Linked DNA regions of Homo sapiens: regions 1, 2 and 3 are each linked to region 4. The links are contacts of gene promoters, found by promoter capture Hi-C in blood cells and fetal thymus (Javierre and others, 2016). All regions are on one chromosome and are shown on one strand. Each heading gives the region's core, a stretch centred on a gene start or on the middle of the fragment in contact. The rest is flanking DNA. Distances are from core to core; before and after follow the strand shown. Region 1 has its middle 26 kb from the start of KHDRBS1. Region 2 has its middle 27 kb from the start of PTP4A2. Region 3 has its middle 8.2 kb from the start of KHDRBS1. Region 4 holds the start of ADGRB2 (adhesion G protein-coupled receptor B2).

The links. Contacts are between HindIII fragments. The CHiCAGO score rates a contact against its expected background, and 5 or more counts as called.
Region 1: a contact is called between a fragment that was not itself captured here and the fragment with the promoter of ADGRB2 in region 4, in 2 of 17 cell types (activated CD4 T cells and naive CD8 T cells). The highest score is 6.3, in activated CD4 T cells.
Region 2: a fragment that was not itself captured here is called in contact with the fragment with the promoter of ADGRB2 in region 4 in 9 of 17 cell types (fetal thymus, naive CD4 T cells, total B cells and 6 more); the score reaches 9.8 in fetal thymus.
Region 3: a fragment that was not itself captured here is called in contact with the fragment with the promoter of ADGRB2 in region 4 in 5 of 17 cell types (fetal thymus, M1 macrophages, naive CD8 T cells and 2 more); the score reaches 6.3 in fetal thymus.

What each region holds. Positions count from the first base shown.
Region 1 is chr1:31,986,183-31,988,882 of GRCh38, forward strand. No RefSeq gene overlaps it. Among named protein-coding and RNA genes, the nearest start is that of KHDRBS1, 26 kb to the right of the region's middle. The HindIII fragment of the contact is 806 bases long and covers 959-1,764 here.
Region 2 is chr1:31,963,959-31,966,658 of GRCh38, forward strand. No RefSeq gene overlaps it. Among named protein-coding and RNA genes, the nearest start is that of PTP4A2, 27 kb to the left of the region's middle. The HindIII fragment of the contact is 4,027 bases long and covers 1-2,700 here.
Region 3 is chr1:32,004,305-32,007,004 of GRCh38, forward strand. No RefSeq gene overlaps it. Among named protein-coding and RNA genes, the nearest start is that of KHDRBS1, 8.2 kb to the right of the region's middle. The HindIII fragment of the contact is 4,207 bases long and covers 1-2,700 here.
Region 4 is chr1:31,762,896-31,765,595 of GRCh38, forward strand. It overlaps ADGRB2 (adhesion G protein-coupled receptor B2), which reads right to left and starts at 1,445. Exons shown (of 33, transcript NM_001364857.2): 1 at 989-1,445. RefSeq lists a silencer at 1-127. The HindIII fragment of the contact is 4,434 bases long and covers 1-2,001 here.

The DNA of each region.
Region 1 (2,700 bases), core at 112-2,611, 220 kb after region 4:
GCCTGGGCAACAGGGTGAGACCCCTGTCTCTCTGAAAAATTTAAAAATTAGCCAGGCATGGTGGAGCATGTCTGTAGTCCCAACTACTCTAGAGGATGAGGCAGGAGGATCACTTATAGCCCAGGAGGTCAAAGCTGCGGTGAGCCCTGTTCATGCTACTGCACTTCAGCCTGGACAGCAAAGCAAGACCCTTTCTCTAATAAAATAAAATAAAATAAAATAAAATAAAATAAAATAAAATAAAATAAAATAAAATAAAATAAAATAAAATAAGGCTGGATGTGGTTGGTCACTCACACCTGTAAGCCCAGTACTTTGGGAAGCCAAGAAGAGAGGATTGCTTGAGCCCAGGAGTTCAAGACCAGCCTGGGCAACACAGTGAAACCTCATCTCTATGACAATACATTTAAAAATTAAGGAAAAAAAAAAAGCCAAGAACCTAATTTCTATCGTAGGTCAGGTTCCCGTGGTATCCTGCTGTCCTCCTTTGTGACATTTGGTACCTTTGGAATTGCCTGCCCGTTGACTTCCCCATCCCTCCACCTCCTGCACCCACTCTGTTCCCCTTGGCTCCAAGACTACAGGGACCAGGAACGCCTAGCAAAGTGCTTGGTTTAGCAGTTGACCAAATGAATGAGTTCTCCCACCTTCCAATGACTTTTCTCTTGCCTGGGTTTTGATTCTTCCAGAGAAAGGAGAGAACAGCTCAGCTCCATCTGTGTGTGCCGCCCAGGCCTGGCTCACACAGTTCCTGCACATTCCCCACCCAGGGCAGGGTGAAGATGCCCTCTTTCTTGTCCTGGAGAGAGATGTAAAAGCAGTAGCTCCTGCTGTCTTCACTGCCTCAGCCCTGGGGGACACCAAAATGCCTGAGACCACAACAACCTGTGAGAGGTGTGAGCAGGTGGCAGAGCCAATTACAGGAACAGGACTGGGCATTCTGGCTGACCTTGGCAGAAGCTTCTCTTCCATCTTCCTTTTATTTCTAGCAGCTGGGGGAGGAGGGAATGAAGCCCTAATTGCTTTCACCTTGAGAAAAATCTGCGGCTGACCATGTGCAGAGAGAATCATTCTGTCACACAGCAGGGGGGCTCGAAATTAGATCAGATCAGGAAGGCTGGCGTTTTCCCTGAGGCTCTCGACTAACGACCAAGGGGAAGAGAGGCACTTGGCCTAACGCCCCTCCTCACTCTGCCCTACCAGTCACACAGTGATAGCTGAGCTCTTCTCTTCTGCCCAGAACTCCACAGGGAACTCCCCATGCCTGCCCCCTCCCCACCCAGGCTGCTGTGACTAACGTGTGCCTTCACTAGGTCTTGCCCAGGCCACAACTCAGGCTGCTGGGTGAGAACTAGAGCTATTCTCACAGGCCCCCAACTGCCAGGCAGATGCCTCTGTCGACCCAGCCAGCCTGTCCCTGCCGAGTTCAGACAGGAAGGCGAGGCTGGCCCCTGGAACTACCAGGGAGAGACATCGGCCAGCCACATATGCCTGATTCTGCCCAGACACTTCTAACAATTGAGGCAGTGGGTGAACTCGCATGCTTTCTCCATCCCCGATGAAAAGCAAGTTCAAAAGCCACATACTGTCCTCAAGCCCTGGGGGAAGCCAGGACCCTGACAAAGAGGAGGCATTGTAACTCGATAGAGCAGTCTTGAGTGATACTGATGCAGTAGAGTCAACCACCACACACTCAGCATTGGAGCCACCGAGAATCATCCAGAGCGCATGTGATACTGACGTTAAGCAATTAATGGCATACAAAGCTTCAGAGCACTAGCTGGTCACCTACTGGATCCCGAGTAGAAATTTTCTGTAAGAAATTCTGGGGAAGGCCGGGCGCGGTGGCTCAAGCCTGTAATCCCAGCACTTTGGGAGGCCGAGGCGGGTGGATCACCAGGTCAGGAGATCGAGACTATCCTGGCTAACATGGTGAAACCCCATCTCTACTAAAAATACAAAAAAATTAGCCGGGCGTGCTGGTGGGTGCCTGTAGTCCCAGCTACTCAGGAGGCTGAGGCAGGAGAATGGCGTGAACCCGGGAGGCGGAGCTTGCAGTGAGCCGAGATCGTGCCACTGCACTCCAGCCTGGGCGACAGAGTGAGACCCCGTCTCAAAAAAAAAAAAAAAAAAAAACTCTGGGGAGGGCCAGGCGCAGTGGCTCACACCTGTAATCCCAGCACTTTGGCAGGCTAAGGCGGGGGAATTGCTTTAGCCCGGGAGTTTGAGACCAGCCTGGGTAGCAAAGCAAGACCCCACCTTTACAAAAAAAAAAATTAGCCAGGTGTGGTGGCACATGCCTGTGGTCCCAGCTACTTGGGGGCCGAGGTGAGAGGATAGCTTGAGCCAAGGAGGTCAAGGCTGCGGTGAGCTGTGATCACAACACCACTGCACTCCAGCCTGGAGCAAGCAAGAATTTCATTCTAAAATTAAAAAATAAAAATTCTGAGGAGGCAATAGAAACTGATAGCTTCATACATAGCCCACTGCAACAACTTTCTGGCTATGTGACTTCGATGGTGTCACTTAACCTGTCTGAGCTTCAATTTCCTCACTGCAAAATGAGATTAATAATACCTACCTCAAAGGGCTGCCATGAGAATGAAGTTAATATATGTAAACTATTTAGTGCAGCATGTTGCTCAGGAAGTGCTCACTAAACGGTCACTGTCCATATTATTATTTTATTTTATTTTATTT
Region 2 (2,700 bases), core at 23-2,522, 200 kb after region 4:
TCCCATCTCAGCCTCCTAAGCAGCTGGGATTACAGGCACCACACCCAACTAATTTTGTATTTTTAGTAGAGACGGGGTTTCTCCATGTTTGTCGGGGTGGTCTGGAACTCCCAACTCCAGGTGATCCGCCCACCTCGGCCTCCCAAAGTGCTGGGATTACAGGCATGAGCCACCACGACCAGCACATACCTTCATTCTTCAGGAAGAGGAGAATTTACCTGGCTGCCCAGTCCTGCAGGGAGCTACTCCAGACAGACACTCCCTGTATAGGAAGGGCCTTCCATGAGCCTGGCAGAAGCGCTAGGCAGCTCACTACTGTCCTCTTGTGGTCAGAACAGGTCAGAGCTTGATCTAGCAAAATACCGCTCACCCAGTCTACTCTGAAAGTCAAGGTCATCCCCAGAAGTGTGACCTCTGGCTATCCCTGCAGTTAATGTGCTGCACACCAGCATCAGTAGCCCAGCACCCCATCCCAAAACGGGCCATAATCAGGGTTTAGCAGCCTAAGCCTAAAGACTGCAAACCTATCTGAACAATGCTGTCTATTCCAAGCCAGAGACTTTCAGGAGACACTCTTTTCTGACAGCTAGAGCAAGTGATGGAGAGCACGCCTGTCCACTAGAGAGAGCACTCATGGTCAGAACTTGGGGTTTCAGACTGCAGAGAAGGCAAAGTTGCAGGAAAACAACAACAATCATCCTAATCATAAAAGCCCTTGCCCTTGTATGGTTCTTTTTACTTTTCAAAGTATTTCCCAAGGCAATTTGGCATGTCCAAAGAAATTAACACAAGGATGTTTGCTACAGCAAAAGAGAATTTAGGCTGGGCGCCTGTAATCCCAGCATTTTGGGAAGCCGAGGCAGGTGCATCACCTGAGGTTGGGAGTTTGAGAACAGCCTGGCCAACAGGGTAAAACCCTGTTTCTACTAAAAATACAAAAAAATGGCCAGGCATGGTGGCTCACGCCTGTAATCCCAGCACTTTGGGAGGCCGAGGCAGGTGGATCATTTGAGGTCAGTAGTTGGAGAGTAGCCTGGCCAACATGGTGAGACCCCGTCTCTACTAAAAATACAAAAATTAGCTGGGCATGGTGGTACATGCCTGCAATCCCAACTACTCGGGAGGCTGAAGCAGGAGAATTGCTTGAACCCGGGAGGCAGAGGTTGCAGTGTGCCGAGATCGCGCCACTGCACTCCAGCCTGGGTGACAGAGTAAGACTCCGCCCCAAAAAAAACCCCGAAAAAATACAACAAAAAAGCAAAAAAATTAGCTGGGTGTGGTGGCAGGCACCTGTAATCCCAGCTACTCGGGAGGTTGAGGCGAGAGAATCGCTTGAACCTGGGAGGCAGAGGTTGCAGTGAGCTGAGACTGCACCACTGCACTCTACCCTAGATGAGAGAAACTCTGTTTCAAAAAAAAAAAAAACAGAGACAGAATCTAAACATCCTTCAGTAGGACAGTCATTTACTAAAATGGAATAGTATGCAACTGTTTAAAATATTTCTTTATTCCTTTTCCACTCCCACAGCTTCACTTGACTTAACTAGCCTTAAAAAAAAAAAAAAAAGGGTCAGGCACAGTGGCTCACGGCTGAAATTCCATCATTTTGGGAGCCCAAGGTGCGTGGACTGCTTGCACTGAGGAGTTTGAGACCATCCTGGGCAACGTGGCGAAAGTTCTTCTATACAAAAAAATACAAAAAATTAGCTGAGGTGCGGTGGTGTGCACCGGTAGTCCCAGCTACTCAGGAGGCTAAGGTGGGAGGATCGCTTGAGGCTAGGAGGTTGACACTGCAGTGAGCTCTGATCACGCCACTGCACTCCAGCTTGGGTGACAGAGTAAGACTCTAAAAAAAAAAAAAATGAGGCTGGGCACAGTGGCTCACACCTGTAATCCCAGCACTTTGGGAGGCCAAAGCAGGCAGATCACTTGAGCTCAAGAGATCGAGACCAGCCTGGCGAACATGGCGAAACCCCGTCTCTACTAAAAATACAAAACTTAGCTGGGCGTGGTAGTGGGCGCCTGTAGTCCCAGCTACTTGGGAGGCCAAGGCAGGAGAATTGCTTGAACCTGGGAGGCAGAGGTGGCAGTGAGCCAAGATTATGCCATTGCACTCCAGCCTGGGCAACAAGAGCAAAACTCCCTCTCAAAAAAAAAAAAATGACAGATAAATCTATCTGGATGTGTTGGTATGGAATAATCTTCAAGATTCATTGTTAAGATTGTTTTTAAAAGAAAAAAATAAGTTTATGTGTCTGTTTAAAATAAGAATTTGTATAGATGTAGATATATCTATTTAGGTATGTATAGAACACATTGGAAGGAAACACCTCCAATAATGACTGCCTCTGAGAATGGAGGAAAGAGGGCATGGCAGTAGGAAGGAGAACTAATTCCTACTGGATATCCTTATGTACTATTAAATTCTCTTCTTTTTTTTTTTTTTTTTTTTGAGACAGAGTCTCGCTCTGTCACCCATGCTGGAGTACAGTGGCGCGATCTTGGCTCACTGCAAGCTCCGCCTCCCGGGTTCATGCCATTCTCCTGCCTCAGCCTCCCAAGTAGCTGGGACTACAGGCGCCTGCCACCACACCCAGCTAATTTTGTGTATTTTTTTGGAGAGACAGGGTTTCACCGTGTTAGCCAGGATGGTCTCGATCTCCTGACCTCGTGATCCACCCGCCTCGGCCTCCCAAAGTG
Region 3 (2,700 bases), core at 36-2,535, 240 kb after region 4:
AAATCTAACCTGTGAGCTGTGGTGTTCTTCCCTCCTTTCCGCGTCTGACCACGTTATCTCACTGTTCTCCACTGGCACTCTATCTCCTTATCTGAGCATCAAGACTCAGACTACCTTTTTTTTTTTTTGAGACGGAGTCTCGCTCTGTCACCCAGGCTGGAGTGCAGTGGCGCGATCTTGGCTCACTGCAAGCTCCGCCTCCCGGGTTCACGCCATTCTCCTGCCTCAGCCTCCTGAGTAGCTGGGACTACAGGCGCCCGCCACCGCGCCCGGCTAATTTTTTTTGTATTTTTAGTAGAGACGGGGTTTCACCATGTTAGCCAGGATGGTCTCAATCTCCTGACCTCGTGATCCACCCGCCTCCGCCTCCCAAAGTGCTGGGATTACAGGCGTGAGCCAGCCCGCCCGGCTCAGACTACCTTTTGGCCTTATCTCCTGCCATCTTCCATGAGCCCCTCCCCACTCATCCAAATCTAGCTCATATCCCGCAACTTGCCATTCCAGGGACCCACACCAAGTTTTGTAAAGTTTTGTTGTCTTTGCATGTGCTGTTCCTATTGATATTCATTGAGTCAACAAATATTTACTGATCAGCCAATCCAGACCAGCACTGTGCTGGGGACATAACCTTAAACACCAGAAACAAAGTTCCTGCTCTCATAGAGCTTACATTTGAGTTGCAGAGATGGAGGTTACTCAAATAATCACAAAGAGGTAAATTTTTGTGTGGTTTTTTTTTTTTTTTTTTTGAGATGGGGTATCACTCTGTCACCCAAGATGGAGTACAGTGGCATGAGCTCGGCTCACCGCAACCTCCACCTCCTGGGCTCAAGCAATCCTCCCACCTTAGCCTCCCAAGTAGCTGGGACCACAGGCTCACATCACTACACCCAGTGAATTTTTTTTTTTTTTTTTTTTTGGTAGAGACAGGGTTTCGCCATGTTGCCCAGGCTGGTCTCGAACTCCTGAGCTCAAGTAATCCACCCACCTTGGCCTCCCAAAATGCTGGGATTACAGGAATGAGCCACCACATCCAGCCCCAAAGAGGTAAATTTAAAAGGTGCTGTTTTAGGAAGGAGCCATGAAAGCATGTAACAAAGGGAGCTAAGCCAATCTGCACTAGGGGGCCTGGACACCTTCCCTGAAGAAGTGGCAATTGACTATATCGGAAGAATATATAGGAATTACAGTAGCTAAAGAAAAGAGGAGTAGCTAAAGAAAGAAAAGACAAGGGACTGGATTGGAGGAAGGGGGACAGTGATTGGAGTTTTAAGCTAAGGAACCAGAATGGGTGTGGTCGAGAGGAAGCAGGAGTCTGGCTTATTTGAGGAACTGAAAAAGGCCAGGGTTGCTAAGCACAGGAACCAGGGAGGAGAATGGCATGAGATGAGGTAAGAAAGCCATGTGTAGCTGGGCACAGTAGCACCTGTAGTCCCAGCTACTTGGGAGGCTGAGGAAGGAGGATCATTTGAGGCCAGGAGTTGGAGGCTGCAGTGAGCTATGATGGCGCCACTGCATTCCAGCCTGGGCAATACAGTGAGACCCGATCTCTATAAAAAAAGAAAAGAAAGGCATACAGGTAGGGGCAGGTCAAACATGTTAACAGGACTCAGGTCTTTATCCTAAAGGCAATAGGAAAAATACTATTCTGGCTTCTGGGTTGAAAATAGAAAAGGGGAAAAGGAGTGGAAGTAGGGGACCAGGTCAGAGGTGGCAGAAGTTCAAGAGAGGCATTATGGCACTTCAGCTGGAGGCAGAGGCAGGGGAGACAGAGAAATGTGGATGGGATTTTCAGTATTTATGAGGTAAGCAACAAAGGACTTAAGAATGGTTTGTATGTGGTGGGGGTAGAGTGATGAGGCAGAGGAGGGAAGTCAGAACAAGTCTCAGATATCCAGGGTGTGCAGTGAGTTAGGGGTGCTGTTCCCTAAGATACAGACACTGAGGAGGAGCAGGTCAGTGGCAAAGGGCAGAGTGGGAGTTTGTTTGTTTATTTATTTATTTATTTTGAGACAGTCTTTCTCTGTAACCCAGGCTGGAGTGCAGTGGTGCGATCTCGGCTCACTGCAACCTCCACCTCCCAGGTTCAAGCAATTCTCCTGCCTCAGCATCCCGTGTAGCTGGGATTAAAGGCAGGTGCCACCACACCTGGCTAATTTTTGTAGTTTTAGTAGAGACGGGGTTTTGCCATGTTGGCCAGACTCGTCTCGAACTCCTGACCTCAGCTGATCCACCCACCTCAGCCTCCCAAAGTGCTGGGATTGGGAGCCACTGCGCCCAGCCTATCTATTTATTTATTTTTGAAATGGAGTTTCACTCTTGTTGCCCAGGCTGGAGTGCAATGACGCGATCTTGGCTCACTGTAACCTCCACCTCCCAGGTTCAAGCGATTCTCCTGCCTCAGCCTCCCAAATAGCTGGGATTACAGGTGCCCGCCACCATGCCTGGGTAATTTTTATTTTTTATTTATTATTATTATTATTATTATTTTAGATGAAGTCTCGCTCTGTCGCCCAGGCTGGAGTGCAGTGATGCAATCTCGGTTCACTGCAACCTCCACCTCTTGGGTTCAAGCGATTCTCCTGCCTCAGCCTCCCGAGTAGCTGGGATTACTGGCGCCCACAACCACACCTGGCTAATTTTTGTATTTTTAGTAGATATGGGGTTTCACCATGTTGGCCAGGCTGGTCTAAAAACTCC
Region 4 (2,700 bases), core at 195-2,694:
CGCCCCTCCCCCCGGCGGGCAACAGACCCGTCGCCTGCTCTGCACGGGCCGCGGCGCGGAGGACTTCCCCCGGCTGTGCCCTCGGACCAAGCTGACTGCGGGAGTGGCCGCCAACTTCACAGCCTACAACCCCCTCCGGATCATGCCGGCCCTGGGGCTGCGGGAGGGTGCGTCTGGTGCCCAGCTCTATGACCAGGGGTGGGAGGATAGGGATGGGGGATGGACAGATAGACTCCGGCCAAAGATGGACACGGGAGTCAGGGATGCGGGTCCAGTCGGGATCTCAGCTGGAGGGGAGGGGGCGCGGAGCAGACACGGGGGACACGGCCCCAATTCCAAGCTGAGGGGAGGGGACTTGCAGCAAGATTGGCGAGGGAAGGCGGGACTCCGGTCAGATAGATATGGGGGAGGGGGCGCTAGGGGCAGAAATAGAGAAGAAGCATGGTCGGGGTACAGGCGCGGGGGAGGGTAGAAACTATGGGCAGACATGGATGGGGACAGGAAAGACTCCGGGCAGTGATGAAGTGGAGGAGAGGAGCAGGGTCCGGCATTCAGACCGTGACGGGAAATAGAGGGGGAGACACAGTTGAGCTGCAGGTTAATGGGGGGGCTCTAATAAAGGTGGGGGGCACACTGCCCGGATCCAGGCCGAGATAGGGAAAGACTCGAGACAGCAAGCACGGTCTGTGTCAGAATTCTGGAGGGGGAGACTTTAGCATAGATGGGTAAGAGGGTCGGTCCAGGCTGGGGGAGGGGGGGGGCCGAGATTAGAGATTCACCAGCGATTAAGGGGGCCTCGGCCCTAGGTTTGGGAGTTCCCCAGAAGATGGGGGTGGGCGAACGCTGAACGAACTCAGTTCGGGCTGGGGGAGAATTCAGCAGAGACGGGTTAGGAGAGCGCCCCGAGTCCGGGCCGGTGCGGAAACTCGGGACCGCGCCGGCAGGGCTCGGTGCGAGGCCAGGTCGGGGTCTGGGGCCGAGCACTCACCTGGGCGCCGTCAGCAGCAGGAGCGGGGGCCGGCGCTGGCGGGGGCGGCCACGGGGCGCAAGTTTGCCATCCCTAAGTCGGGGACCGGGCCGGGCGCAGGGTAGGTAGCTGCAGCCGCGCGGAGGGCCGAGGCTCCCGCTCTCCCGGGCGGCGGGTGCAGAAAAGGCGCCGCGGAGCAGCGCGGGGCGGGCGGGCGGGCGGCGCCGGGCCGGGCGCGGGCTCCTGCCGCCGCCGCCGCCGCCGCCTCCTTGCCGCGCCGCCCCCCGCTCCCCCGCTCCCCCGCCCCGAGCACCGCCCGCGCCGCGCGCCGCCTCCTATTTGCGGGCGGCGGCCGCAGCCCCGGGCTCTGAGAGCCGGTGCCGCATCCTCTTCGGTCTCTGAGCGCCGCCGCCGCTGCCGCCGAACCCGGTTCCTCCGGCCGCTCCGGCCGCTGCCCGCAGCGCGCGCCGGGCCGAGTGACGGCCGAGGCGGGACGCGGCGCCTGCGCGGGCCGGGCCCGGGAGGGGGCGCGCGCCGGGCCGGGCGCGAGGAGCCGCGGGAGAAGGGGCGGGGGCGACGCGCGCCGCCTCCTGTTAAAGGGGGAACAGCGCCAGCCGAGCCGATCGTGCCCCCCACCTCCCCGCCTTGGGCCCCAGGCGCCGGCGCGGGAGAAGCCCTGGGTAAGCCCCCGCCCAGCCCGCTGCTTCTTGGACCGCAGAATGAGGCGATCCGCGACGCCCCTCCAGCTATACCCATGCCGGAGGCTTGTCGCGCCGCCAGGGTGTCCCGGGCCCTGCAGGCTGAAGCATTTGCTCACCTTCCCATGTGCATTGCATATTGCATGTCCCTGTGCATGCAGGTGCCAGTCATGTGCGCTGAACTTTGCATATGCATACAGGTGCCCTAAGTGTGCACTGCCATGTTGCCTGGGTAGGTGCATGCAAGTGCCACACACATGCACGGTGTATTAACATGTGCCCAAGTCCTGAATGCATGTTGCTTGTTCCTGTGCGCAGGGATGTTATATGTATGCAAGCTTACAGGTGCCACATGTGTGCTGAGGACTGTGGGTAACTCATGTAGCAGCCACATATGTATACTGCAATGTGACATGTTTGATGCATACTGTAAACTGCAATGTTGCACGTCCTTAGGCACGGGGATGCTACACGTGTGCAGTGTGTTACATGTTTTCCTGAGTCCCTGTCTATTCCCACAAGTGCCTTTCCCTGTGCCAGGGGCGCCCCCATGTTGCATCTGTTTGTGTAGAAGCAGCAGAGATGTACAGACCCACCCCTTCCCCATCTTGGCACTAAGCCCAGAAACAGTTGGGTGGGGCCTGAGCCCTCATGGTTCAGGCGGTACACAGGGAGATGCCCATGGTTCAGGGCTCTGGTCAGGCAGTTTGTGGCCTGGGCATGTTGCCATCAGTAAGGTAGGCCGACCAGGGACGCACCATTGCAGCCAACACAAGTAGGTTAATCCCATGGCTTTGGTCAGAGGAGAAACCAGCAGGGGGCAGCTTTGCAATAAGGGTGGGATGGTTTCAGCTTTGCGATGAGGGTGGGATGGTTTCAGGACCATACTTTTTGAAGGTTCACTAGCCAGGAAGGGCCAAATTTTCAGTGCAAAGAAGTCCTCATTTCAGCAAATACCAACCCCACCTCTCCACTGATGCCCCTTAAGTTGTGGCACCCTCAAGATGGGGCAAGAAGAGAAAAGCCTACCTCTTC